Regions from separate parts of the Homo sapiens genome. Here all the other regions are linked to region 7. Evidence: promoter capture Hi-C in 16 types of primary human blood cells and fetal thymus (Javierre and others, 2016). All regions are on one chromosome and are shown on one strand. Each heading gives the region's core, a stretch centred on a gene start or on the middle of the fragment in contact. The rest is flanking DNA. Distances are from core to core; before and after follow the strand shown. Region 1 overlaps ELF2 (E74 like ETS transcription factor 2). Region 2 overlaps SETD7 (SET domain containing 7, histone lysine methyltransferase). Region 3 holds the start of LOC124900188 (small nucleolar RNA ACA64). Region 4 overlaps SETD7 (SET domain containing 7, histone lysine methyltransferase). Region 5 overlaps ELF2 (E74 like ETS transcription factor 2). Region 6 overlaps ELF2 (E74 like ETS transcription factor 2). Region 7 holds the start of NAA15 (N-alpha-acetyltransferase 15, NatA auxiliary subunit).

Evidence for each region. The method cuts DNA at HindIII sites, captures the fragments that hold promoters and counts their contacts. A CHiCAGO score of 5 or more calls a contact.
Region 1: a contact is called between a fragment that was not itself captured here and the fragment with the promoter of NAA15 in region 7, in 6 of 17 cell types (naive CD4 T cells, total CD4 T cells, monocytes and 3 more). The highest score is 6.7, in naive CD4 T cells.
Region 2: a contact is called between a fragment that was not itself captured here and the fragment with the promoter of NAA15 in region 7, in 4 of 17 cell types (non-activated CD4 T cells, total CD4 T cells, naive CD4 T cells and 1 more). The highest score is 5.4, in non-activated CD4 T cells.
Region 3: a contact is called between a fragment that was not itself captured here and the fragment with the promoter of NAA15 in region 7, in 1 of 17 cell types (total CD4 T cells). The highest score is 5.8, in total CD4 T cells.
Region 4: a contact is called between a fragment that was not itself captured here and the fragment with the promoter of NAA15 in region 7, in 1 of 17 cell types (total CD4 T cells). The highest score is 5.4, in total CD4 T cells.
Region 5: a contact is called between a fragment that was not itself captured here and the fragment with the promoter of NAA15 in region 7, in 2 of 17 cell types (monocytes and total CD4 T cells). The highest score is 7.8, in monocytes.
Region 6: a contact is called between a fragment that was not itself captured here and the fragment with the promoter of NAA15 in region 7, in 17 of 17 cell types (total CD4 T cells, total CD8 T cells, naive CD4 T cells and 14 more). The highest score is 31.7, in total CD4 T cells.

What each region holds. Positions count from the first base shown.
Region 1 is chr4:139,123,812-139,127,784 of GRCh38, reverse strand. ELF2 (E74 like ETS transcription factor 2) reads left to right here. Exons shown (of 10, transcript NM_001331036.3): 4 at 2,456-2,621. Among named protein-coding and RNA genes, the nearest start is that of ELF2, 51 kb to the left of the region's middle. The HindIII fragment of the contact is 1,456 bases long and covers 1,218-2,673 here.
Region 2 is chr4:139,521,609-139,525,540 of GRCh38, reverse strand. It overlaps SETD7 (SET domain containing 7, histone lysine methyltransferase), which reads left to right. Exons shown (of 8, transcript NM_030648.4): 5 at 2,106-2,187. Among named protein-coding and RNA genes, the nearest start is that of SETD7, 33 kb to the left of the region's middle. The HindIII fragment of the contact is 8,290 bases long and covers 1-3,932 here.
Region 3 is chr4:139,434,108-139,438,350 of GRCh38, reverse strand. LOC124900188 (small nucleolar RNA ACA64) reads left to right here and starts at 1,857; the gene lies at 1,857-1,983. The HindIII fragment of the contact is 4,158 bases long and covers 317-4,243 here.
Region 4 is chr4:139,541,103-139,545,263 of GRCh38, reverse strand. All of the region lies in intron 2 of SETD7 (SET domain containing 7, histone lysine methyltransferase), which reads left to right. Among named protein-coding and RNA genes, the nearest start is that of SETD7, 13 kb to the left of the region's middle. The HindIII fragment of the contact is 7,497 bases long and covers 1-4,161 here.
Region 5 is chr4:139,142,803-139,146,889 of GRCh38, reverse strand. All of the region lies in intron 1 of ELF2 (E74 like ETS transcription factor 2), which reads left to right. Among named protein-coding and RNA genes, the nearest start is that of ELF2, 32 kb to the left of the region's middle. The HindIII fragment of the contact is 1,374 bases long and covers 2,126-3,499 here.
Region 6 is chr4:139,102,035-139,105,829 of GRCh38, reverse strand. All of the region lies in intron 4 of ELF2 (E74 like ETS transcription factor 2), which reads left to right. Among named protein-coding and RNA genes, the nearest start is that of ELF2, 73 kb to the left of the region's middle. The HindIII fragment of the contact is 1,492 bases long and covers 860-2,351 here.
Region 7 is chr4:139,299,806-139,303,770 of GRCh38, reverse strand. It overlaps NAA15 (N-alpha-acetyltransferase 15, NatA auxiliary subunit), which reads right to left and starts at 2,266. Exons shown (of 20, transcript NM_057175.5): 1 at 1,940-2,266. The coding sequence starts at 1,993. NDUFC1 (NADH:ubiquinone oxidoreductase subunit C1) reads left to right here and starts at 1,294. Exons shown (of 6, transcript NM_001184989.2): 1 at 1,294-1,355. RefSeq lists enhancers at 2,216-2,275, 2,756-2,875. The HindIII fragment of the contact is 1,328 bases long and covers 1,374-2,701 here.

The DNA of each region.
Region 1 (3,973 bases), core at 696-3,195, 180 kb after region 7:
CTGTATTGGCCAGGTTGGTCTCGAACACCTGACCTCAGGTGATCTGCCCACCTCAGCCTCCAAAAGTGCTGGGATTACAGGCATGAACCCTGAATTTTTTAATGCAAAATGATTTTAGCTTTTTTATGGTCAAAGAGAAGGAATCACTGAAATATTAAAACCCGGCTGGGCGCTGTTTCCAGAGGTGCTATTGTTTTGACTTATGTATTATAATTTCTTTACTTTTCTTTATAGTTTTGCCACCTATGAAAATAGTCCTAAACAATATTTTATTTTGAAAAAATAGTTTACCAAGCTAATTGAGTTAGGAAAGGGCAATATTATCATAGATAGATGAAGGCTTCCAGGAGAAGATAGCTGAATAGTCAGGTTCACTGAGTGTCATGAGCTTGTCTTCAAGTAGTCAGTGAGCAATGCCATGAGTTTTTAGAAATGTAAGGCACATCCTGCTCTGGTATCTGGCAGTGCTACAGTATGGTATGGGCTGGGTATTGCATATTTGTTCAGGAGGTATATGGTCACATGAAGAACGCTGTTCTGTATCTTTTATTTTAAGCCCATGGTAATCTTCCTCCAACACATAGTAGATCAAAGCAGAACACATCTGGGGGGTGAAATGTGTTCTTAGCTGATCCAGGCAGCAGGGCAGGTGGAGTGAGTAGGTACATGAAGGTAAGCCAAATGTCAATAAAAATCTAGAACAGACTGATCTGGACATTCTGTCCTTAGGAACAAGGTCAATGGTTATCGTAGTAATGACAGTTCATCATGCTATCTCAGGAGTCACACTGCTATATTTTGGACTGGTTGCCCTTTAAATCTGGTGCATAGCTAGCATCGTGGAATCTCTCTTCACAGTCTTCCTGAAGATTCCCATTGTTTCTCTCCTATGTTGATCTCTTCTATCCTGTATTTGCAATAGTTCTCTTTTTTAAAAAATTCACTCTCTCTTATTGATGGGATACATTCTCCAGTATCTTCTTGAGAAAGGAAACATGAAAGGTAAATGTTTGAGATCTTTCATGTCTGAGAAGATACCTTTATTCTACTTCTATAAGATGATTTGACTGGGTGAAGAATCCTAGATTGGAAGTAATTTTTCTTCATAATTTTGAAGAAATTGCTCAACTGTCATCTTCCTTCTAGTATGACTGTTGAGAAGACTGAAGTCTGTGTCCTGATTCTTTGTAGTAACCTGTGTTTTCTTTCTAGAAGCTTGTAGAATCTTTTCTGTTCCCAATATTATGATATTTCACAGTGATATGCCTCAATGTATGTGTTCCTTAATTTTTTGTACTAGACACTTGGTGGGTCCTTTCAAATGGGTGGCTTATATCCTTCAGTCTTAGAAAATTTTATTGATTTACTTCTTTCTTGTTGATTTCTTTCCAAACCTTTTTTTTTTTTCCTTTCTATTTCTTGTTTTTTCCTTATGATTTATTTTTTTGGAACTCTGTTATTCAGATAGTGGACCTCCTGGACTGGTTGGTCATCTAATATTGCCATCTTTTCTCTCCTGTTTTCTATTGCTTTATCTTTTTTCCTCTGGTTCCTGGAGATTGCCTCAATTTTATCTTCCAAGCCTGTATTCATTTCAGCTATTGTATCTTTAATTTCCAAAAATTCTTTTACTTGTATTTTAAAATGTTCTTTACTGAATTGTGATCTGTTCTTACTTTATAATATCTTCTCTGTGTGTGGAATATGAATATTTGGCTTTTTGTTCATGACTAAAAGTGATGGACTAAAAAGCTAGTTGGACACTCCATTTTGGGTAGAGTATGATGCTAACAACTGTGCCTATTATGCCTCAAAGATGCTATTGTTGTTCCTCTCTGGAAAGTAACCTGTCTTCTGCTGAGGTGGAGGAGGTCTGGTTGCTTAGCATCATGAAGGAGAGAGAAGGTCTAGGAATCAAAAGTGCATGTAATTGGTGTTGCTTTCTGTAGATTCTCTACACTGTACAGTGTGTTGTTTCTCAGATTTTTTTTTTTTTTTTTTTTTTGCTGCCAGACTGATTTGGCTTTGCTGGGTCTGCTAACCCACTCCATACTCATCCAGACACTTTCAGTCTTCCAGGATTTTGTTGTTCTTACCTCTTCTTGTTTGTTGCTCTCACCTCTTGTCCTTGTGGGTTTAGGTATAAAAGAGTCTTTTACTGTTGTTTTAGTCAGCTTTCATAATTAAGTGAAATTATATGCATGTTTTTAATCTGCCAACTTAATCCTAAAGCACAGATTATTTAAAATGTTTAATCTATGTCTTACCTCTTGAGACTTGAAAGGATTATTAAAGTTAGCCCTTTTCATCTCTTGTTTTGGCTTTTACATTCATATTTATAATATTTGAAACTCATTATGTGGACTGCTCGAGACTGTATTAGTTCAAGGATTTATAAGTGAATTCAGAATTTGTAAATACAAAGGTTGATTGTTCTTTAAATTTGCTCTTATAGGAAAGTGAAAAGGTTTCTGAATATCCAGCAGTGATTGTGGAGCCAGTTCCAAGTGCCAGATTAGAGCAGGGCTATGCAGCCCAGGTTCTGGTTTATGATGATGAGACTTATATGATGCAAGATGTGGCAGAAGAACAAGAAGTTGAGACCGAGAATGTGGAAACAGGTAGACATCTCATAAAATGTTCATTATTTATAACTTTCTCATTTTGTAAGCTTCAACAATACTATTGCCAGATGAAAAATATACTGAAAAACCTTTTTAATGCTATTTAGTATAGCTTGGAAACCAGTGAAACATCTATGTTTAAGGGAATTTGTGTAGATATAAAACTTCTATTGTATAATTCTATGAGGTGTAACAGTCTCATATCATGGACTCTATGCACAAAATTACAGCTTCACATAATGATAAAGTTATTTTATTATTTTTTTTCTGAGAGTATAAATCCTAGCTGTTATTTATACAAGTCAATAGGCTAGTATTATGAGGACAGCTTTTTAAATTAAAAAAAATGGTATTCTATCATTGTCTAATTGATTATGAGTTTCTTTGAGTTAATATTGATGGAGCAATAAGATTTCTTTTCATTAATATCAGAAGCATCATTGTAGTGTTCTATCAGTTTCCTCTTTGCTTTTTGTCGTCTTAGAGATCTTAGTATTTCAGTCTATTTCTGGTGAGATAGCTATATGTTTAATTGGAGATTAGTATCTATAATTCTTAGAGAAATCTTTTAGTTTTTGCCATTGATTATGAAGAAAATAGAGTATTTTATCAGAAGGATTGTAGTGACTCTTACATAATAATAAACATGCAAATGTATCATCTTTAGCTGTTAATGGAGAAAAAGAATCATTATACTTGTTGTTTAATCCTAGTAAAAATTCTTTACTATTTTGATACATTTTTATAAATGTAGGAAACTTTCATGATTAAAATTTTGAGTATGTGATGTATTTCTTCTTATGAGGTCCAGTAGTACCCCTTAGGGCTACTAGCCTCTTCCAGCATAAAACTGTTCTTCCTCTAATTTTATTTTTTGTGGAGCTAAGGGATTGAAAGTTACCTTGCTTTTCAGAGCACTGATGATTGCAGTGCTAGCAAACCTCAGGTATAATGGAAAATTCATTTATCAAAATAGGCAGCCAAGCTGGGTGTGGTGGTGTGCATCTGTACTCCCAGCTACTTGGGAGACTGGGGCAGGTGGCTCGCTCAAGGTCAGGAGCTCAAGTTCAGCCTGGGCAACATAGCAAGACCCCATTTCTAAACAAATAAACAAAAAACCAGGCATCCAAGGACTTCATATGGGCTTCGTGACTGTAGTCTGGAGTGGTATCTGATTTACAGTATATAGTGCATATCTTTTTATGAGAGTTTGGAGAATTTTCCAGTCTGAAGCTAGAAGTATAGTGGCAGAGTTGAATTTTCTTCTTGAGGAAAAGGATAGGTAGAACAGTTAAAAGTATTTTGTAGGATGATGTTTTGGATTATATATTGTAACTGATTTTATTACA
Region 2 (3,932 bases), core at 493-2,992, 220 kb before region 7:
ACTGCTTTCCTTGGCTAATTCCTACTCCATCTTTAAGGCTTAACTCACTTTTTATAATGAATGTTTGTCCATTGAATAAATGAATTCTAGTCAAAGGGCATAGCATACTATAGAGGAAAGGAGGGAAAGTAAAGGATGTGTAAAATCTGTAAAAGTAAAGGATGTGCCTGCAGCCTGGGCATGTCTAAGGCAGCAGAAGAAGAGACAGTAGGCATTGGAAGAGATAGTGTGCACTCCCTGAAAGCAGCAACAGAAGTTAATCCTTATTGTATCTACACAGTCCCTAGTGTTGTACATGTAGCTGGCACTCAGTAAATTTGTCATAAAAATTTTAGTCTAAGGAGCTAGATGGAATTCATAGGAAAATTTCCACTCAATAGAACATACATTCCACACACAATTTTGGTTATTTATAAAAAGTGACGGCTGGGCACAGCAGCTCACGCCTGTAATACCCGCACTTTGGGAGGCTGAGCCAGGTGGATCACTAGAGGTCAGGAGTTCAAGACCAGCCTGGCCAACAGGGCGAAACCCCATCTCTACTGAAAATACAAAAATTAGCCAGGCATGGTGACAGGCACCTGTAATCCCAGCTGCTTGGGAGGCTGAGGCAGGAGAATCGCTTGAACCCGGGAGGCAGAGGTTGCAGTGAGCTGAGATCACGCCATTGCTCTCCAGCCTGAGTGACAGAGCAAGACTGTCTCAAAAGAAAAAAAAAGTGGGGGAGGGTGGTTTAAATGCTTTTCGTGGATTGCTTGGTGGTCTGTTACCACTTTGCTCTCAGATCCAATCCATTCATCATTCTTTCACTGCCCGCTATTATTGCAAGAGGCTGCTGCCCCTTGCAGCCTGCATTTTTCAGGCTCCTGTGTGTCTGACTTCTGTCTGAGTTTGGCCAAAGGGAGGCCACTGGCTGGCTGGGGACAAAGCAGGAGAAGGCAGCAGGAAGAAGCCCTCTCTGTGTCAACCAGCATCTCCAGCAGTGGCCCCATCACCTCCTGATTCCATCTCCCATGAGGAAGGCCCAGGCTAGTTCCAACTACCCCAGCTCCAGAGCTCCAGGAGCAGCACTGTGCCCTCTGTCCCTCCGGCCTCCAGTGGCAGCTTCCTGCTCTTGCCAGTGTCTGGGCTCTTCACGGCTCCATCTGGCTTGTCAGCATTCCATCCCCTGTATGACCAATTCCCTGAACTGAATTCTTTTTGAAACACTCAAATGGTCCGTTTCTGTGCGGACACTGACTGATTTGGATTGGTTTCTGACTTTTAGTTTCAGGTATTCATTGGGGTTTTGGTTGTACAAAAAAAGCCACTCACAAACAAACAGAAAGAGGACCTAGTAACCATTAGTAACTACTGAAGAATTGCTTAATGGGATTATGAGTTTTCCCTCAGTGTATATAATCATTTGTTTTGCAGGAGTAAGCCCTCTGATTCTAAATCTTGTTTCTTTACCTATCAGTCTTCAGAGCATCTATCTTTAGTGCTGTCTGTGAGGATTCTCTAAAGCTAATCCTTCACAGAGAGCCAGTGTTCCTTCTAGGGTGGTTGTGTGCCTTGATTTCTAGAGTAAATTACTAATTGGCTTCTGAACTACCGTAATAGAAAGGAGATTACTTTGTTAATGCTTTATCAAAAGCAGTGCTGTTCTCCTTAATTCTGGTGAGGCAGAATTTTATTCTTAGTGAAGGAGACAACTGCCAGTGTTCAGTTGTTGGATTCTGTAGACTGTATCTGTAATGAAGAAAACCACCAGAAAAATTTAAAACCATCATCCAATTTGATCTGAGCCAAGAGATCTCAGAATTTCATGACAAAGCATTTTATTGATTCCCAAGCATCCTTTAAGTCATTTTAATAAGGAAAATTCAAGAGTGAATTGGAATGTTAAGAGATGCATCTGATGGCTGTTCATGAAGGCCTGAAAATAAAACTGAAGCGTAAATCTAAAATGTATCCATTTAAATTGAAGAACTTCATTCTAGTTGGTATAACTTGATTAAGATTTTTGGTTTTTTAACTCTTCGTTGTCCCATGAATAGAGAGAAGTGTTATAAATGCTCTTCCCTAACTCTGCACCTATACTGGTATTTTTGTTTGCTTTTCAGATTCAGTGTACCACTTTGATAAGTCGACTTCATCTTGCATTTCTACCAATGCTCTTCTTCCAGATCCTTATGAATCAGAAAGGTAATTTCCTCCTTGGGGTTTTAATTGCACTGTTTATGTGAGGTTAAATAAGCCTAGTGGTAGGAACTTATGCACCTCTTTGGCTCTCTGCCCAGGCTGGGTTCCAGCTCAGACCAAGCTCCTCATGAAAGTGTCCTTTTCCTTTGCCAACCCTCAAATAAATATTTCTATATTCTGAGGAAGAGTGTTTTTATTCTTATGTAGAATCTGACCCTGTAAGAGAGTTTCCTCACCCATAAATCACAGAACAGCTTGTGTGTCTGTCCTAGAGTAAAACCTCCAGGTAGAAAGAGCAGTTGAGGCCAGGCATGGTGGCTCATGCCTGCAGTCCCAGCATTTTGGGAGGCCAAGGCGGGCGGATCACTTGAGGTCAGGAGTTCAAGACCAGCCTGGCCAACATGGTGAAACCCCATCTCTACTAAAAATACAAAAATTAGCTGGGTGTCATGGCGTATACCTGTAATCCCAGCTACTCGGGAGGCTGAGGCACAAGAATTGCTTCAACCTGGGAGGCAGAGGTTACAGTGAGCCGAGATCATGCCACTGCACTCCAGCCTGAGCAACAGAGCAAGACTCCATCTAAAAAGAAAAAAAAAAAAAAAAAAAAAAAAAGAGCAGCTGGGCCAGGCAGCCAGCTGTGTCCTGGCCGAGCATTCCCGTTCTTAGGGTCTGTGCTGCAGTCACATGCTGGCCCTCTAGGGGAACATTTCATGCTCTTTAAAGCTCTAGCCTGTGCACACAGGATGCCTCCATTTCATCTTAGACCAGCGGAGGTGTTCTGGAACACAAGACAATTTCTTTTTTCACAAACAGAAGACAAGAGTGAAACAAAGAAAGTATAAGAGGCATAAAAACATTCTAGCTTATAAATGACAAGTTTCTGGTTTGTAAGCCCACTCCCAGAGGGTCACATCCTGTTCTACTTCATGTCTTATTTATGAGGATGGCTAAACTCTAGCTCTTGAGTCTTGATGTGGCTTTTTCTGGTACCCTCTCTGGGATTCTTCTTATTCCTTAGCAACAGATCTGTTTATGAATAAGCGTACTATCTGAAATTGGTTTTCTCTTTGCCTCGTGTTTTGTAAGCATGGCTTACCTCCCATTCAGTTTCTGTTCCCATCTGAGAAATAGGCCTCTTCCTCCATTCAACTGACAGGGCTGACCCCACAATGTCACAATGATGAATGGACTCTTTTTTGACATGAGGCTCTGGCCCAGTTACAAAGGGAAGGGTTTAGCTTCTTTGTTAGCTCCGAAACACAAGACCATAGCCATACGTGTTAGTCTTTTCTGTTATTATTGTTGTGATGAGGCTGCATAATGATGCCCTCAGAACTTTCAGTGGTTTACAGAATCAAACATTTTGTTTTACACCATAGTTCTATAGGTTGGCTGAGGTTCAGCCACTTCTGACTGGAATCAGCTAAGCTCAGCTGGCCTAGGCTGGACTCCAGGTTTCAAGTTGGGTTCAAGTCTGTTTCACATGTTTTCTTTACAAGAGAAACAGGGAGCAACAGCCCCCTAGGGCATATTCTTCTAATGGAGACAGTGAAAAGTCTGGAGGAGGCCAGCAGAAATTTGCCCCAGCCCTTCACACCTGAGACTTGCCTGCAGCCACTTCTGCCCATGTTCTACCAGCAAAGCAGATCAGATGGCCAAACGAGAAGTCAGTAGGGCAGGATGTATCCTCCACCCACCCTGAGGGAGGCACTACAAGGTCACGTGGCAAAGTGGCAGGATGTATA
Region 3 (4,243 bases), core at 1,146-3,645, 130 kb before region 7:
GTCAACATTCCTAAGGAGAGGAGGGATGTTGCAGACAGCAGCAGTTATTTTAGCACTGGTATGCATTTTTAGGTCACTGCATGCTACAATGCACTTTGTGGTCACATACCCAGAAAACATTTTCACAACAGGTAACTCCACATCTTGTTTTCTACTTAATTTAAGGGACTAATAGATTTAGTTTGTTTTGGACACATGTTATATAGAGATGTAATTATGTGATATCAACAGCTGAAAGGGGTGGGGGACAGGGCAGTTAAGGAGCAGTTTTTGTATCTTTTTCAAATTAAGCTGCTATAAATTTATGTTAGAAGCTTCCTTATTTAGGATGTCAAATGTAATCCCATGATAACACAAAGAAAATAGCTAAAAGAAGATAAGAAAGGAAGTTAAAAGTTTCATTACAAAAATCAACTAAACATGAAAGAAGACAGATAAGAAATGAGGAACCAAAAAAAGCTGCAATATATATAGAAAATAGCAAAATGACAGAATTCCCTCATCAGTAATTATTTTAAATGTAAATGGGTTAAACTTCAGTGAAAAGACAGAGATTAGAAGAATGGGTTTTAAAAAACCATGATTCAAGACTCCTGTGCCACATAACATTTCAGTCAATGATGGAATGCACATAGGATGGTAATACAATGGTAAGATTATAATAACGTATTTTTACTATATATTTTCTATGTTTAGATATACAAACACCATTGGGTTATAGTTACCTACAGTATTTAGTATGGTAACATGCCGTAACAGCTTTGTAGCCTAGGAGCAATAGGCTATACCATACCATCTAGGTTTGTGTAAGTACCTTCTGTGATATTTACATGATGATGAAATTGCATAACAATGCATTTCTAAGAACATATACCCATACATAAATGATACATGACTGTATATGCTGTCTGTAAGAGACTTAAGATCCAAAGACAAAAACAGGTTAAAAGTGAAAGAATGGGAAAGGATATTCCATGAAACTAATTACCAAATATTAAGGATGGCGATACTAGTATACAACAAAATACACTTCAAAGCAAAAAAGATTACTAAAGACAAAGAAGGACATTATATACTAAAAAACGGTTCAGGATGAGCACGTTGGCTCAGGCATGTAATCGCAGCACTTTGGGAGACCAAGGTATGAGGGTGCCTTGAGACCAGGAGTTGGAGACAGCCTGGGCAACACAGTGAAACGCTGTCTCTACAGAAAATTAAAAAATTAGCTGAGCATGGTAGCATGTGCCTGTAGTCTCAGCTACTCAGGAGGCTGAGGCAGAAGGATAGCTTGAGCCAAAGCACTGGAGGCTGCAGTGAGCTATGATCACACCACTGCACTTCAGCCTGGGCGACAGAGCATGATCCTGTCTTAAAAAAATAAAAAACATAAAAGGTTCAATACAGCAAGAAGGTTTAACAGTTGTAAACATGTATGCTCCTAATGACAAACCATCAACATATATGAAACAAAAATTGACGTAATTGAAGGGAGAAGTACAATTCTACATTAATAGTTGGAGACTTTAATATCCCAATCTCAGTAGTGGATAGAACCATCAAAATCTAAGCAAGGAAATATAGGACTTTCACAACACAATAAACCAACTAGATCTAACAACCATATACAGAACACTCTACCCAACAATGAAATACACATTCTTCTCAAGTATACATAGGATAAATTCCAAGATAGGTCATAAATTAAGTCTGAATTGATTTTAAAAGACAGCAAAATATCTTCCCTGACCACAATGGGATGAACTTAGAAATCAAAAACAAAAAGAAAACTGGAAAATTTAAAAATCATAGAAATTAACACACTCTTAACCATTAGATCAAAAAAGAAACCACCCGGCATTGGTTGAAAATCACCCCCCGGCTTTGGCCATGGCAGCGGGTGAGATTCGGCGCCCAGAGCCTCCAGGGGCCTCAGCTCACCGCACGCTGACACATGTGCGGCGGTGAAACCCAGCCCCAACAGGCCCCGCGGCCTCTCCCTGGGTGCGGCCGCTCGCGTGGTCTGGCTCCTGACCCAGGCTGCCGACCCCTAACCCTGTTTTCTCTCCACAGGACACTGGTCTTCCCACACGTGAGACCGATGTCGCCAGGACCACGGGGTCGGGGGGACTCGGCTGTCCTCCGTCTTTCAAATAAAGCTGTTTGTCTAAAAAAAAAAAAAAAAAAAGAAACCACAAGACAAATAATAAAATACTTATAAAGACAAGTGAAAATGAAAACACAGCATACCAAAACTTATGAGACACAACAAAAGCAGTGCCAAGGGGGAAGTTTCTAGCTATAAATTCTTACATTAAAAAATAAGAGTCTGGTCTGAAGAAAGCAAAATTAAAAATTATTTAAAAAATAAGAAAAATATCAAATCACCAACCGGACTTTCCAATTTAAGGAACTGAAAAGGAAGAGCAAACTAAACCCAGAGCTAGCAGTAGAAAGGAAGTAGTAAAGATTAGAATAGATATAAATGAAATAGAGACTAGAAAAATAATATAGAAAAATCAAAATGAAACCAAAAGTTGGTTATTCAAAAATCAAAAAACTTTGCAAATCTCTAGCTAGATCTACTTATAACAAAGGAGACAAGTCAGAAATGAAAATGAAGACATTACTACCATTTCTACAGAAATGAAAAGAGTTATAGGGGAATACTGTCAGCAATTGTCTGCCAAGAAATTGGATAACCCAAGTGAAATGGAGAAATTCCTAGAAACACTAAACCTACCAGGCTAAACCATGAAGAAATAAAAAATATGAGTAGATTTGTAACTACTAAAGAGATTCAATCAGTAATCAAACATCTCCTGTCAAAGAAAAGCCCTAAACCTGATGGCTTCACTGATTAATTCTACCAAGCATTTAAAGAAGAACTGTATCAATCATTTCAGACTTCCCAAAAATTGAAGATGAGGGCATACCCTTAACACGTTCTATGAGGCCAGCATTAACCTAATACCAAAGCCAGTAAAGGTACTACAGGAAAACTACAGACCAGTATCCCTTATGAAGACTGATGCAAAAATCCTCAGAAAGGTACTTGCAAACAGAATTCAGCAGTATAGTTAAAGGATTATACAGTTTAAGTCATCACTTAATGTTGATAGGTACTTGGAAACTGTGACTTTAAGCAAATGATACATCAGGAAGCCAGTTTTGCCATAGGCTTGCCAGGCACACTGCCTCACACCTGTAATCCCAGCACTTTGGGAGGCTGAGATGGGAGGTTCACTTGAGCTCAGGAGTTCAAGACCAGCCTGGGCAATAGAGTGAGCCTCGTCTCTACCAAAAACAAAAAAAAAAGCCTGTAGTCCTAGCTACTTGGGAGGCTGAGGTGGAAGGATCACTTGAATCCGGGAGGTAGAGATTACGGTGAGCTGAGGTTGAGCCATTGTGCTCTAGCCTAGCCAACAGAGGAAGACTCTGTCTCAAAAAAAAAAAAAAAGGCTAATTTATATAAACAAGAATTAAGTTCCTACAGATGTTTTATAAACATCATCAAAGTTCTAAAGAAAGACCCAAAACATCTCCAGTTTTAAACATTGAAATAAATGCAAGCTACATGTACATTTAAAAAAAGATTAATAGAAACAAGTAAAATATTTACCTAATCTCTGGCAAATCTATGAGTGACAAGTGGTTGTAGTAATGGTGAGTTAAATCAAAGAGTAAATGCTTGCAAAGAGAAAATTGTAAAGAGCACACAGTTCATAAACAATAACAGGTCATGCCTATAATCCCAGTACTTTTGGGAGGCTGAGGCCAGAGGATCCCTTAAGCCCAGGACATTGAGACCAGCTTGGGCAACATAGTAAGACATCATCTCTACAAAAAAATTAAAAACACAAATGAGCTGAGCACGATGGTGCACACATGTAGTCCCAGCTACTCAGGAGGCTGCGGTGGGAGAACCACTTGAGTCCCAGAGGTCAAGGCTGCAGTGAGCCATTTTTGTGTCACTGCACTCCAACCGGGGTGCGAGTCTGTCTAAAAAAACAACAACAACAACAACAAAATGGAGGAGGCAGAGCAAGACAGCTAAATAGAAGCCTCCACCAATTGTGGAGGTGTCTCCTGACAGGGACACCAAATTTAACCACTATCTATATTAAAAAGCACCTTCATAAGAACCAAAAATCAGGTGAGCACTCATAGTACCTGGTTTTAACTTCATATGACTGAAAGAGACACTGAGGAGGGTAGGAAAGACAGTCTTAAATTGCTAACACCT
Region 4 (4,161 bases), core at 445-2,944, 240 kb before region 7:
GGAGCTGAGGCAGGAAGATTGCTTGAGCACTCCAGCCTGGGTGACAGAGCAAGACCCTGTTTCAAAAAAAAAAAGTTGGTATCACTGCTTTTCTTTCCTATGACTCTTTTAACCTATCCAGAGGGAAACTTTTCCTGCCCCATTTCCACTGCAATTTTTTTATAGCTCTTTTTTCTGAAAAGTGTCACTTTTAACCTTATTCTGCAAATTTTTTTATTCGTTCAACAAGTACATATTTATGTAAATGTCTCCTTCATCTCCAAGGACAGAGGTTTCCTTGAGGGCAGAATCTGTGTCTATTACATCTTTTATGCTTCATAGCACTTTCTCTTAATTTGATACTAAAAAGAAGTCCTTGCTAAGTGAGAGTGGGAGCTGAAAGAGAGGGTAGAATTCACCCAGAACACCCCCTCCGCCTCCCCCTCCACACACAAACACACACACACACACACACACACACACACACTTTAAATCTGGTAGTTTGATGATGATAGCCAGTAACTGATTGACTCTGGGAAAACAGTCCAGCAGATTTGTTTGAATTTGGTGTTGGTTACCTGCTTGCTTTATGGGGCTGATACACAGAGTACTGATGGGCTAGACTAAAATTCTGAACCAGTGTGCCGAGAATGAGCTACTTGTTAGCTTCAAGATGCTGATCCCCTCAGCCCTAGGGTAAGATAGCAAAGTGGGGCCTGAGACTTCCTGGGCACCTGTCTTCTCATATCCAGCTAGTAACTTCTAGCCCCAAACAGCTTCATCCGCTTACCCCAGTGTGTCAGACAAATGCATTAATTTGCAGGTGTGTCACGATATGAACAAGCTGAAGCACCAGGCCAAGTGGCAGCACTAGCCCAGTAACTATCTATAGGCTAGAAATACATTCATTGATTTTTTTTTTCCTTTTGAGGCACGAATTCACCATTCTTTTTATTTTATTTTATTTTATTTTATTTTATTTTATTTTATTTTAGATGGGTTCTCACTCCGTTGCCCAGGCTGGAGTGCAGTGCCATGATCACAGCTCACTGCAGCTTCAACCTCCCTGGACTCGGGTGATCCTCCCACCTCAGCTTCCTGAGTAGCTGTGACTACAGGTGCATGCCACCACACCAGGCTAATTTGTTTTGTATTTTTTATAGAGATGGAGTTTTGCCATGTTGCCCAGGCTGGTCTCAAACTCCTGAGCTCAAGTGATCCACCCGCCTCAGCCTCTCAAGTGCTGGGGTTACAGGCGTGAGCCATTGTGCCCAGCCTAACCAATTCACTAATTTTTGTTTGTTTGTTTGTTTGTTTGTTTGAGATGGAGTCTTGCTCTGTCTCCCAGGCTGGAGTGCAGCGGCGCGATCTCGGCTCACTGCAAGCTCCGCCTCCTGGGTTCACACCATTCTCCTGCCTCAGCCTCCTGAGTAGCTGGGACTACAGGCGCCCACCACCACGCCCGGCTAATTTTTTTTTTTTTTTTGTATTTTTTTAGTAGAGACGGGGTTTCACCTTGTTAGCCAGGATGGTCTTGATCTCCTGACCTCGTGATCCGCCCGCCTTGGCCTTCCAAAGTGCTGGGATTACGGGTGTGAGCCACTACGCCCACCCAATTCACTAATTTTTATATCTACCACTCAAACACCAGTGGAGATGTTGATTAAATAGAATCAAGGAAAAATAGTGTTAGCGAGGACCTCAAGAGATTATCTTGGTTATCTTCAGATAGACGGGAGTTAATATCTTAAGGGGAAAATGTCAGTATCATTGGTTTTATTACACATGATGGAACAGTGTGGTGACAGGATCTCAAAAGGTCGTCCTCATCTTCTTAAACCCAAATACTGATCATGTTACGAGACATCTGCTAAAAGGATTTGCTGTAAAAATTAGTAAGAGAGTCTTACAACTGAATAAAAGGTCGAGAATCTACCAGGGTTTTCTAAGGCAGATGTGGGATTTGATTATGGATAAGTCAGTTGTTTCTACATGAAGCAGTTTTTATTTATATTTGTCTATTACTTTTTCTCCCTGTTCCCATCCCCGGCTTTTAGAGCTTGATGTGTTGGGTAAAATTAAGTGGGAATGCTTTGCCTTTATTGTCAGTCATCAACCTTTGGTCTGGAAAAATTCCTTAAGAAAGGCTGGCATTAGGTTTTGAATAACAAGCGAGGAGACAAAAACTTTGTATTGAAGAAAGTTGTTGAAACCTGTTATGCTGATTTGTGTCCCCATCAAAGAGTTTGTCTGAAATTGTGGGAACCCATGTTCCGACAAGGAAAGAGACAAGGAAAATCACAGTGTAGTAATGGAAGACTTGGCCTAAATATTCTAATTTTATATGAAAACTGAACCCCAGAATATGATTTATGAGAAGTATCCAAACAAATATAAACATATCAAGAAAATTATAGAATCAGTGTTTCCCTTGACATCGAATGAGATAAATCTGAATAAGAATTTCAAATATCCAGATAACTAGGAAAAATAGCCCTGTGAAATTTTAAAACCAAATTTGTAAATAGAAGCAGAATATTTTATTTTATTTTTAAATTGCAAACATAACAAATGCTTAGTGGAATAAAACAAAACTTCAAGAAATTCAGAAATGTGAAAGTGCTCCCCCCCGCTTTTTTTTAACCCCAACCCATGCCATAGAAGTAATTACTATTGGCAGAGAATTTGCACATCTTAACTAAACATATTCAAGGTAAAATATAGAAATAGGCATTTTTAAAGTTTTATTTTAATTGACACATAATTCTACATTTTTCTGGGGTAAAGTGTGATTTTGATACATAAACACATTGTGTAATGATCAATCAGGGTAATTAGCATATCCATCACCTCAAAGATTCATCATTTCTTTCTGGTGAGAACATTCAAAATCCCTTCTTCTAGCTATTTTGAAGTATACAATATATTACTGTTGACTGTAGTCACCCTGTTATGTAATAGAACACCAGAACTTATTCTTGCTATCTAACTGTAACTTTGTACCTGTTGACCAACCTCTCCCCATCCTTCCCTCCTGCCTTCTACTCCCCAGCCTCTGTTAACCACTGTTCTGTTCTCTACTTCTGTAAGATCAGCTTTTTCAGATTCCCCACATACAAATGAGATCATGCGGTATTTGTCCTTTTGTGCTTGGCTTATTTCACTTTACATGATGTCCTCTAGGATCATTCATATTGTCACAAATGACAGGATTTCGTTTTGTTTTTATGCTGAATAGTATACCATTGTGTACGTATATACCACATTTTCTTTATTCATTCATCTGTTAATGGAAACTTGGGTTGATTTCATATCTTGGCTGTTGTGAATAGTGCAATAAACATGGGAGTGCACATACCTCTTCAGCATATGGAAGAAATAGCTATCTATTTCTAAATCAGTTTAAATAGCAAAAATGTACATTGTTTACCTGTTCACAACTGTCTCAGATTCAAAATGTTTGCTAGTTTTGAGATCATAATATTTAGTCTTTTCTTCATTATATGACAAAATGTGGAAGAGAAAAGCTAAGTTACTACAACCAGCTTATTAAGTCAGAAACCTAAAATCAGAATACTCATGCTTTACCAGATGGTTTGCCCTACAAATAAGGAATGAATGAGAACATAACCTTATTTTAAAAATTGTTTTTAAAGTAGATATTGTGTCCATTCCCGCCTCCTCTATTAAAAGGGAAGAAGAAATTATCCTGAGATTCAGTAACTGGGACTTCTTTACATCCACTCGGTCCCGAGATAAAGGAATTGATGCAGCGTGGTGACAGGAATCTTGAGGCTTTGTTGGTGTGGATCTGGAGTCTGTCTGGTACCCGTGGATTTGCTGGAGTACCATGGGGTGTGATGAAAACGTGTAGTGTTCAAAATACTTTGATACACACATCTCTAATTTTTATACTAATCCTAGATTCTGGATGTTTATTTTCATGTATCTTTCTTTAATTGTTCTATTTTGACCATGATTTATGAACCTAAAGGCAAGACTTTTCACAATCCTAGAATGGTGAACAAGAAGGAGATATTTCTTCAGATTGGCTTTGCGGGGGCTATGGAATATTAGGGTCATGTGGTTTTTAGCCTAATTATGAGGTGGAGATGAGGTCATTCATTCAGCTTTATTTGTTTATATTGTTGATGCCTCTCCTTCACATGCCAATTTGATTTT
Region 5 (4,087 bases), core at 1,563-4,062, 160 kb after region 7:
TTTGATCTATCTTGAGTTGATGTTTGTATAAGATGAGAGACAGGGATCCAGTTTCATTTTTCTACTTGTGGCTAGCCAGTTTTCTCAGCACCATTTATTAAATAAATAGGGTGTCCTTTCCCCAATTTATGTTTTTCATGCTTTGTTGAAGAGAGTTGGTTGTGGATATTTGGTTTTATTTCTGGATTCTTTAATCTGTTCCATTGGTCAATGTGTCTATTTTTATACCAGTACCATGCTGTTTTGTTAACTATAGCCTGGTATAATTTGAAGTCCAATAATGTGATGCCTTCAGATTTGTTGTTTTTGTTTAGGATTGCTTTGGCTATTCAGCCTCTTTTTTGGTTTCATAGGAATTTTAGGATTTTCTTTCTCTAAATCTGTGAAAAAGGATGTTGCTGTTTTGATCAGATTTGTATTGAATCTGTAGATTGCTTTAGATGGTATGGTCATTTTCATGATATTGATTCTTCCAATCCATGAGCATGGGATGTGTTTCCATTTGTTTGTGTTATCTATGGTTTCTTTCATCAGTGTTTGTAGTTCTTCTTGTAGAGATCTTTCACCCCCTTGGTTAAGTATATTCCTAGGTATTTTATATATATTTTTGCAGCTGTTATAAAATGGATTGAGTTCTTAATTTGATTCTCAGCTTGGTCGTTGTTGTATAGCAGTGCTACTGGATTTGTGTTCATTGACTTTGTAACCTAAGATTTTACTAAATTCACTTATCAAATCTAATAGTCTTTGGAGGAATCTTCAGCATTTTGTAGGTATACGATCATATCATCAGCAAACAGCGATAGTTTGACTTCCTGTTTTCCAATTTGGATGCCCTTTATTTCTTTCTCATGCCTGATTGCTCTGGCCAGGACTTAAAGTACTATGTTGAAAAGAAGTGATTAAAGTGAGCATCCTTGTCTTATTCCAGTTCTCAGGGGGAATGCTTGCAACTTTTTCCCATTCAGTATGCTTTGTCGTATATGACTTTTATTATTTTGAGATAATTCCCTTCTGTGCCTTGTTTTTTGGGTGTTTTTATCATAAAGGGATACTTGATTTTATTGAATGTTTTTTCTGCATCTATTGAAACAATCATGTGGTTTTTGTTTTTAATTGTTTATGTGATATATCACATTTGTTGACTTGCATATGTTAAACCATCCCTGCATTCCTGGGATTAAACCCACTTGATCATGGTGTATTATCTTTTTGATGTGCCATTTGATTTGGTTAGCTAGTATTTTGTTGAGGATTTTTACATCTATGTTCATCAGGGATATTGGTCTGTAGTTTTCTTTCTTTTTGTTACATCCTTTCCTGGCTTTGGTATCAGGGTGATACTGACTTCATAGAATGAAGAAGAACAGGTTGCTTCCTTGATGTGGTGCTGTCCCCCTTGCCCTAGGAGTAGGAGTCCCTGAGAGCCAGACTACTGTGAGTACTGCTGCTCCTCTGGGTCTAGCTGCCCAGTGGGGTTACCACATTCCAGGCTGATTCTGGGGAATGTCTGCAAGGGATCCAGTGATGTTATCTGTCCTCAAGTCTCCCAGCAATGTGTACCAGCACCAGCTCTCATAGGGGTAACAGGGGAATGACATACGTTGTGAGATTCCTTGGTTGTAAATAGCCGTAGTGCGTTGGCTTTCTTAAATGCTGGTTGTAGTATTAATAAACTGGTCATGTGGACAGACTCAGGACATCCTGGTTAGCCAGGGTACTGCAGACAGTGCTGATAACTGGGTCATGCATAAGTTTTCTCCTTCTTGGGTGCAATGTTATTTTACCTGTAGTTGCTGTAGTAAACTGTGTCTGTTGGCCTCCAGCCAGGAGGTGGTGCTTGCAAAAGAGTGCCAGCTGTGGTTGAAGTGGTGGGATATGTGCTTGTCTTATGTTACCCATGGGAGGTATTTTGGTTTATCAGATGATGGGTGAGGCCATAGGGCTCCCCAAAGTTTCTGTCTTTTGTGTTAACCTACCAGGGCAGGTGGAGGGTCAAAGCCAGGTGGGGGGCTTGGTCAGGCAGGCCTGCTCTTTGGCTCTGCATGTGTGGTGTAAGCACAGATCCATGTTGGGCTTTTGGAGCCATTCCCTGGCCACTGGGGTAATGTTCCAGGAAAAAGCTTAGCTGCCTCTGCTTCACAGAAGAGTTCATGCAGGGAGTGGGGAGTAGCAGGTGGGAGTAAGTCTCATCCAGCTCCTACACACTTGGCAAGGCAAGTCTCTCACTCAGAGTGTTCACTAGCAGCAGCTAGCTAAATTCCAAGCTGTTTACATACAGGAACCTCAGCTTTCAGGCCACGCCCCTTTTCATCCACTGGCAATGCCAGAGCACCCAACTTCTGTGTCTGTGGTTACAGCTTACTTCCCAGTCATCCGCCCAGTTCAGCCAAGGCAGTTCATCCCCACTTGAGATTATATTTTGAATTTCAAATTGGGAGCTTCTTTCAACCTGCAACCACTGCCTCAGTTGGTTGGCAGAACTTTGTGAACTCTCCTGTGACACAGAATCAGGAATAGCTTCCCTTGGTTTGCGTTGGAGACCGGGAATACGCACAAGGCTCTTCCCGCCCCTGGTGCTTCTTGTATATTCTCCACTGCTCCCTATATTAGTTTTAGCACTGGGTGGGGTTAAGGCCTTCCTCTGTGGGCCGGATTTCTAGTTTTCATAGTGGGGGTGTATACTCTGGAGGTAATCTCTCTCCCTCTCACACTCTGGGGACTTACAGTTTTTTACCTGGCTCATGGTGTAGACTGCAGCCTGCCCCTTCTTTCAAAGGATCTGTGGTTTCCGTTTTTCCATTAAGTTCCTGCATTGCTTCTTTGAAAAAAGTTCACAGTTTGAGTCTTTACCCACTATTTTTTCTTTCCAAGTGGAAGAGGCATGCCAATACTACCTCCAATCTGCCATCTTGAGGAGGGTGGGAATTTTTTTTTTAATTAAAATTTAAATTTTTGTAGGCTGATTTTGTGGCAAGGATCAGGCTAAGGTGTATTTAAGGTCTTCTCAGGTCTTTTCTGAGCCTGGGCATGTGTGGTCACTTTCCACATTTTTTCATATATATAGTTTTTGAATGTTCTAGTCTTTATTTTAGTTTATTTTTTATTTTGAGGCAGAGTCTTGCTCTGTTGCCCGGGCTGGATTGCAGTGGCTCGATCTTGGCTCACTGCAACCTCCGCCTCCCGAGCTCGAGCTCCTGCCTCAGCCTCCCGAGTAACTGGGATTACAGGCGCCTGCCACCACGCTGGGCTATTTTTTGTATTTTTAGTAGAGACGGGGTTTCACTGTGTTGGCCAGGCTGGCCTTGAACTCCTAACCTCAAGTGATCTTGGCCCACCTTGGCCTCCCAAAGTGCAGGGATTACAGATGTGAGCCACTGTGCCCAGCCAAATGTCCTGGTCTTTAATGTGTGGCTCTCAAAAGGGGAAAAAGAGTAAAATGGGGTTTGCTGGCCTTTTAAGTCCCCTAGAAGTGACTTCAGCCAGAGGGGGAGAAGCTTGCAACAGTGAAGGGAGGCATAACAATAATATCTACTCATTTCTTTGTGTGCTCCTCTGTGATCAGAAGCAATAATCAGTGATCAGAGCACAGATCTCTGATATTTGGAAAATAGTCCTTTTTGCTTACCATGGCCCTCACAAGTTGCATGCAGACTGTTCCAGGAACACATGCACAGCTGTCTACCCTCGAGTTGGGGGATGGGTGGTAGCTGATACTGTGCTGAGAGCTAGAATGACCGAAATTAACCACAGTTTATTGTTCAAGCCTTCCCTTGGAGGTTGTAAGCCTTTAGCCAGGGTTCCAAAATAGTTACATTAGGTAGATTCTGCCAGTGCAATTGTCTAGATAGGGATACAGATTCCTGGTGCATCCTACTCCATCATCTGAGAATCCTCCAGCCTGGATTCATTCTTGACTTCTTTCTTTCTCTCATAGCAGTCAATCCACATCAATTTTGCTTGCAAATGTCATCCTTTTATCTGCAAAATACATCTAAAGATTGATCACTTTTTTTTTTTTTTGAGACAAGGTCTCACTCTGTCGCCCAAACTGGAGTGCAGTAGAGAGATCTTGGATCACTGCAGC
Region 6 (3,795 bases), core at 356-2,855, 200 kb after region 7:
ACCTTGAACTCCTGGGATTAAGCAGTCCTCCCACCTCAGCCTCCCAAGTAGCTGGGACTACAGGTGTGAGCCACCACACTCAGCAATTTTTTTATCATTTCTTTTTTGGTAGGGATGGAATCTCTGTATGTTGCCCAGGGTGGTCTCAAACTCCTGGCCTCAAGTGATCCTCCCACATTGGCCTCCCAAAGTGCTGAGATTACAGGCATGAGCCACAGTGCCTGGCCAGGATCATTTTTTGACAATCATTATCCCTAGAGTGTTGGAAATGACAGCACAGAAAGGGAGTTTCTGCCATTGTTAAAATTCAGTTAACTCTGTAGTTTCTTACTATATTATACCCATCATAAAAAATTGTTTTGGGGAGTAAAAGGATGGTAAAGTCCTTTCAGGTGTATGAAATAGTGTAACACATCATTACTATTCATCATTAAGCATTCATTGAGCACCTAGTAAATGCAAGGCATTATTTTAAGGCACGGGGCTACAATGTAGACAAGAAAGGCAAAGTCTCTACATTTATGGTACTTAGAATCTAGTGGACAAAACATGTAAGTTTGCACTACAGTAAAATTACTTTGTCACAAATCAAATTATATAACTTGAAATTGTTCTTTAAAGTAAATATATGGAATTAAGCTAAAATAATAAACTCATGAATTATTCTTTTCAAGCAGTTAAAGCAGTGGATAGTTTTTTTCCTCTCCCTTTCCATATGACAGTTATTAGGTACAATTGAGATAGTTAATTGGTAATCTTAACATTTATCATGTACACATTACCTATATTACTGCCATGGCTCCTAGAAAGTGAACAATTCGTTGTTGAATAACACATGCTTTCTAGCCTCAAAGAAGCTTACTAAGTTGCGAAAAATGAGCATTCAGGCAAATAATAGTATTATAGAGTAGATAGGGTTGGGGAAAGGTGAGGGAAAGAATTGCCAAGTATGGTAGTGAATTCAAATGTTCCAGATTACATTATTGCTATTGTGGTAGGTCCCATTTAAATGTCATCATGAGAGTTGACAGTGAAGGCCTCTGGTTAGAGGCAGAGGAACAAGTCAAATGGAATTAAGTATTCCTAAATCTCATTATTTTTAATTTTTTATGTGTGTAACAATACCATAAAAAATCAGAAAGATTTTCCTGTCCTCATTGATGGAAAAATCAGGGAACAATGCTAAGAACTCAGCCTGTTTGCAGTAATTGGTTATGATTTGGGAGTGGAATTAGGAGGTGAAGTAGGACTAACTATGACTTTTTAAATTTTTTACATTCCTATATTTTTTCTTTTCTTTTCTTTTTTTTTTTTTTTTTTTGAGACAGAGTCTCACTGTGTCTTCCAGGCTGGGGTGCAGTGGCACGATCTCAGCTCACGGCAACCTCGCCTTTCGGGCTCAAGTTATTCTCCTGCCTCAGCCTCCTGAGTAGCTGGGACTACAGGTGGGCACCACCACGCCTGGCTAATTTTTGTGTTTTTAATAGAGACAGGGTTTCACCATGTTGACCAGGGTGGTCTCGAACTCCTGACCTCAAGTGATCTGCCCACCTCGGCCTCCCAAAATGCTGGGATTACAGGCATGAGCCACCGTGCCCAGCCAACATTCCTGTATATTTTTTTCATTGAGTATATCAAGAGACAAATGTAGCTTTATAGCCTTTATTTTCATTAGAATAACAGTTTTTTGTTGTTGTTTGTTTTTGTTTTTAAATGAAAGAAGTCCTATGCTGTTTTCTCCTGGTTTAAAGTCAGTGTTTGGTCATAATTGGGTGTTTGATTTCTTTTCACTTTGTAAATATGCCAAAATATATACACTACTTGAAGGGAATGAGCAATTACTTTTTTTATTTAACTAAAATACTTTTCATATGTTTTATATTAAACTGGGTGGTGATAATATGCAATTATTTTTCAGGACTTAAGAATATCTTTAAACAATTATTTGTTAGTGAGTAGAAAAGCAAACTCTTTGTCTCACTATGCTCTCAACAGTTAACACAGAAGACCTCTGGGACATCTGATTACCATGAAGTGTGTGGGATTTCTCCCGACCAATAAACTAGTCAGTCAGTTCTGTAGTGGACACCAGCTGGGTGTCCTCTAATTCAATTCAGTTCTGACACTGTCTACTTGGAGATAGCATCAGATCCTCTGAGAAACACATTTACCAGTTTATCATAAAGGATATTTAAAGGATACAGATGAAGAAATGCATAGGGCGTGAAGTATTGGGGAAGGGTCATGGAGGTCCCATGCCCTTGCTGGGCATGCCACACTCCAGGAACCTCCACATGTTCAGCTATCAGGAAAGTCTCTGAACTCATTCGTTTTGGGTTTTTATGGAAGCTTGATTAAGTAGGCATGATTGATTAAGTCATTGGCTATTGGTGGTTGACTTAACCTTCAGCCCTGTTTCCCGAGGCCCAGAGGTTGGGAGTGGGGCTGAAAGTCCCAACCCTATAATCCTGCCTTGGTCTTTCTGGTGACTAGCCCCCATCCTGAAGATACCTAGGGGCTGCCAGCCATTACTCAATCTTTAGCACACAAAAGAACACTTACTACTTTGGAGATTCCAAGGATTTTAGGACTTGTATGCCAGGAAATGGGGAGCAAGACTAAATATATATATTTCACACATATTTCACAATATCACAGCTAGAACTTGGGAGATTTTCTTATCAGTAGATGAACTTGCAAAAGATCATGAGAAAGTTTTACATCAAAAAGAAAAGGTTAGCCTGGGCAATATGGCAAAACCCCATCTGTACAAAAAATACAAAAATTAGTCGGGCATAGTGGCAGGTGCCTGAAGTCCCAGCCACTTGGAGGCTGAGGTGGGCAGATTGCTTGCACTTGGTAGGTCAAGGCTGCAGTGAGCTGTGATCCTGACACTGCATTCTGACAGAGCGAGACCCTGTCTCAGGGGGGAAAAAAAAAAACATTTATGTCTCCGATCTAGTTAGCAAAAAGATACTTCTTTTTTTTGGAGATGGAGTCTTGCTCTGTCGCCCAGGCTGGAGTGCAGTGGCATGATCTCAGCTCACTGCAACCTCCGCCTCCTGGGTTCAAGCAATTCTGCTGCCTCAGCCTCCCGAGTAGCTGGGATTACAGGTGCCCGCCACCACGCCTGGCTAATTTTTTTATTTTTAGTAGAGATGGGGTTTCACCATCTCGGCCAGGCTGGTCTAAAACTCCTGACCTCAGATGATCCGCTTGCCTCAGCCTCCCAAAGTGCTGGGAATTCTGGCGTGAGCCAGCATGCCCGGCCGATACTTCCTTTTTTTTTTGAGACGGAGTCTCCCTCTGTCTCCCAGGCTGGAGTGCAGTGGTGCTATCTCCGCTCACTGCAACCTCCGCCTCCTGGGTTCAAACAATTCTCCTGCCTCAGCCTCCCGAGTAGCTGGGACTACAGGCGCCCGCCACCACCCACCACGCCCGGCTAATTTTTTGTATTTTTTTTTTTTTTTTCGTAGAGACCGGGTTTCACTGTGTTAGCCAGGATGGTCTCGATGTCTTGACCTCGTGATCCACCCACCTCGGCCTCCCAAAGTGCTGGGATGACAGGCGTGAGCCACTGCGCCCGGCCCTGATACTTCTTATATATGGTGTTTGACAAGTCTTTCAGGAAAATCTGAATTTTTTTCCCCATATGACCTTTTTTCTGATGTGTAATAGTTGGAAAATAAAGGCAGGATTTAGAATAATTACTGAGAATGAAAAACTTCTTTTGAAGAGGAAACCAAGAACTTGGTTCAAGAGGAGAAAGAAATTAAAAGGTGGTAATTTCTTTTT
Region 7 (3,965 bases), core at 1,017-3,516:
AGACAGTCTTCCTCTGTTGCCAAGGCTGGAACTGCAACCTCCACCTCCCGGGTTCAAGCGATTCTTGTGCCTCAGCCACCCTAGTAGCTGGGACTACAGGCGAACACCACCATGCCTGACTAATTTTTGTATTTTCAGTAGAGACAGGATTTCACTACGTTGGCCAGCCTGGTCTCGAACTCCTGACCTCAAGTGATCCATCTGCCTCAGCCTCCCAAAGTGCTGGGATTACAGGCATGAGACACCGTGCCCAGCCTAGAGATAAATTTTACATCTACAACTTACTTTTATACAAATGTATATATACATATACATAGGGAGAGAGAAAGCATATATGGCAAATAAATATAAGTAAAGGTTTATGAGTGTTCCTTGTTCTCTCAACTTTTCAGTTTCATTTTTTTCAAAATAAAGAATTGTGAAAAAGAGATTAAAGATAAATTGCTATTCTAAACTTATGTTACAGTTCTACCTGCACACCAATTAGTCTTTTTAAGGGTTTAAAAGTAACTTTTTTCCTAAAACTATTTTACAGCTCCACCTACACTCTTAGTCTTAAAACAAAACAAAATTCCAGTAAGAATTTCAAGGTAACAGTTTTGCGACACTGCATGTGACTTTCTAATGTTTTTCAAAATGAATTCACTAAATCTGTAGGGCATATGGACACTTTTGTAAAATCAAAGTTAGTTCAAATGGATGATTATTCATTTCTAGAAAAACTGAATCCCCAGAGTTGTTCTACTTTTCAAACAGGTGAAATAAATTATAACTGCGGGGGAAAAGGCTAACACTTTCACACACACATCCCAAATTTTAAAAGTCTTAAATTTGGCAAATACAGTTAATTCTATCATAAGGAAACGTTTGCGTGAAAGGGGGAACCCACATACTAAATGCCAAACAAAAAATGTGCTACAATGTGTTAATTATAGCTCCAAGGCTACAGGACATATTTTACAATGTAAACAGTCCCTGCAAACATCAATGCATTTATGGTTTAAAAAAATACAAACTGCACACATTTGAACCGTAGGGAATAAGTCTGAGCTAGCGTCAACAAAATCCATCTCAAAAGTTCTTATATTCTCATTTCTCTGGTAAGTTTTTGCATGTGTTAATATACTTCAGTGTATAAGAAAAGTCTAGGTCTGCAACGTTTCAACTAAAGACTCAACTTTTTACTTCCTACCGAACCGCCCCCTCGCAATGGGCCCCACCTCCCGAGAAGAGTGACGGGGTGGGGCTGTTTCCCGCTCGGAAACTAAGAAATAAATGCCTCATCCCTACTCCAGAAACGAGAACAACGGAGGCAGAGGAGCTGAAGACTCCAGTATGCAACTGACTACAAGGAGGTAGTCGTTTGAAAAGCTTTCTTTCCTTCTCTGAACTCCTTCTTTCCCTCCTCTCAGGTCATTGGGTGACCCCGGGCCGGGCGGAGACAGGTGAATCCCAAGAGAGGAGGAAGAGGGAGGGACAGATGATGGAGGGAGAACCGCGTTTAGGCAATGAATGAGCCTGCTGCATCCGCACCACCTGTTCCTTCCAAGGGTGCCACCCCGACCTGCCAGCAGGGTTCCCACACCAACCGGGCCGCGACTCCTGCCGGTGTCGCCCACTTGCCCGCCAAAGGCCGGGCCTCTTCTCCCCCAGATCGGGGAGAATGAGAACCGGCAGTCTAGAAGCCGGGAGGTCGGGGCCTAGTCCGGAACCAGGGCCTCAAGCGTGGGGATGGAATGAAGAAGCCTGTGGTCCCTGGCGCGCGGGCCATAGTAGGAACCACAGAGAGGGAGCAAAGCAATGCATTCGGCCTGACGAGAGCTATGAAGGCGGGGTCCCGGGCGGGAGTGGCTCAGTGCCCGCCGGGCCGAGGTTAGGGGTGACAGGCCCGGTTACCGGCTAAATCCTCCCCACCGCTTGCCCGGAGCCTCACACTTACCAAGATCCGCTTGAAGAGCGCATTCTCCTTGGGCGGGAGGCTCACGGCCGGCATCGTTCCGGCTGCTCCCGCTGCTCCCGCCACCACCCGGCTCGGTCAGTCAGTTTGTCCGACCGCCGCCGCTGCCGTTCCGTAGCTGCTTCAGCCTTGAATATCTCGATCCGCCGCCACCACCAGGCCTCGGGTGTCGCCGCGTTGCCCTACCCGGACACCTCCTTTTTCCTCGTTGTCTTTTTTCCTTTCTCACTTAACGCTGCCGCCGCCTCCCCCACTACGGGTCTCCGTCGGCGGTTCACGTGGTAACTGAACAGACCGACAGAGGCAGCCAAAATGGCGGACGCGGAGGGTTTTCCCACCCGGGTCACGCTTCCTAACACGCAGGCGCGGTGACCTCCTTTCCCCACCTCCTCTGGGTTTCGGAGCTTGCCGGGAAACCTGGAGGCTGGCCTGCCTGTGGAGGCCGGGAGGGTCGGGGCAGGCCCCGCCCATCATTTCAGTGCGTGGTACCCTCGAAGCGCCCGCGGAGCTACGGGAGGCTAGGCAAGTACGGTTCAGACCGCCTCCTCATCAAAAACAGCCTCTCTGGCGCCTTCCTGCTAGATCGACCTTTCATTCCTTGGAAAGAGTCTCGCACACTGTGTGATCATCGTTTGAGCCCAAAGTGCTAAAATACAGGTGTAGGTGTTTGAGAAGCGCTGTAGTTGATTATGGACGAAATGCCTAATTTAAGGAGCAGAGGCGGAGTGGAAAATGAAAAAAGCTTCACCGCAGTGGAGACTTGTTAACAGCCCTGGGGAGAAAGGGGCTTAACAGAGTCTGGAAATCGTGAAAGAGCTTGACCGATGAAATGGGCCTGGCTGTCGTATCGGTAATTTGGTGAATGTTGCTTAAGATCAGCCTGGAAAGGTAGTTAGTCAGATCCGAAGTGACATATTTGCACTGCCAAAGGAGGCTCTGGAGGTTAAAGTATGTGTTTTAATTTCGTTGTTGAGGCCATATAATGCAGAGTTGACGGACCGACCTTATGAGTCACCTTGGAGCGGAGTAGTGGAGACTTAAAGACAGACTACCCTGGAGCTGGCTTCAAACTAGTTCTTAATATTGTGACTCGAACTCCCCATCCCCAGAAATTCTCAGATCTTAGAAGCCAAAGACTGGCAAGGATACTAGAGGGAACTACTCGAGTAGGCGAGGTCAGACTACATACCGAATAGGAGTCCTTCCAAAAATGTAAGTCATTTCATTAACAGCTGACCGTAAAACTTTTTCAAAGTGGCATTCCATTGATCTAAAAATTTTCAAGTTATATGAGCCACTTTTAACCTTTGGTTTTTGATTACCTCTTTCCAAATCCTGATTTCACTCTGTAGCATTCTTTGCATCATGAATTATTAAACAATATGTGCGTGTTTTTTACTGTTTTAAATTTATTTGCAAAGATATTTTAATTTTCAAACTTCTCTTAACTGTCCCTGAAAGGTGTGAGTTGAGATACATGTTTCCCAATATAAACTTGGGTTTTGTAGCTGCTATATTGATTGTCCTCGCCCTTCACCGGGGTCATAAATAAGGTTTTTAACAGTCAAATCCTGGAGTTTCCTTAAATTCTGTGATCTCTCTTCAAAAGTTTGAGAAAAATCATATATACAGGAAACTATGTTTCAGTTTGAAATATGGCCAGTATTTTAACCTTAACTTTATAAAACTAAGAACAAGCTTATAATTCATTTTTAAGCTGTTACTTAGTAATAACCTGCAAAATTCACTGCCCCAAGAGATCTTTCAACTGTCTGAACTATTGAAAGACAGAAAAAATAGTCTAAATGCAGTTGATAGTTTTAGCTTGGATTTCCAAATCTCTGGCTTCATATCCAAATTTCTGGCTTCATATCCAAAAATCCCTACAGCAATACTATTTGCTATAGTTCTCTAAATTTCTCCTGTAAAGAATATTCTATTTTCCTTCAGAGGAAGAAAATTTCTGGTCTTTGAAACAATCAGTAGCTTCCACCAGAACCTGAGTACC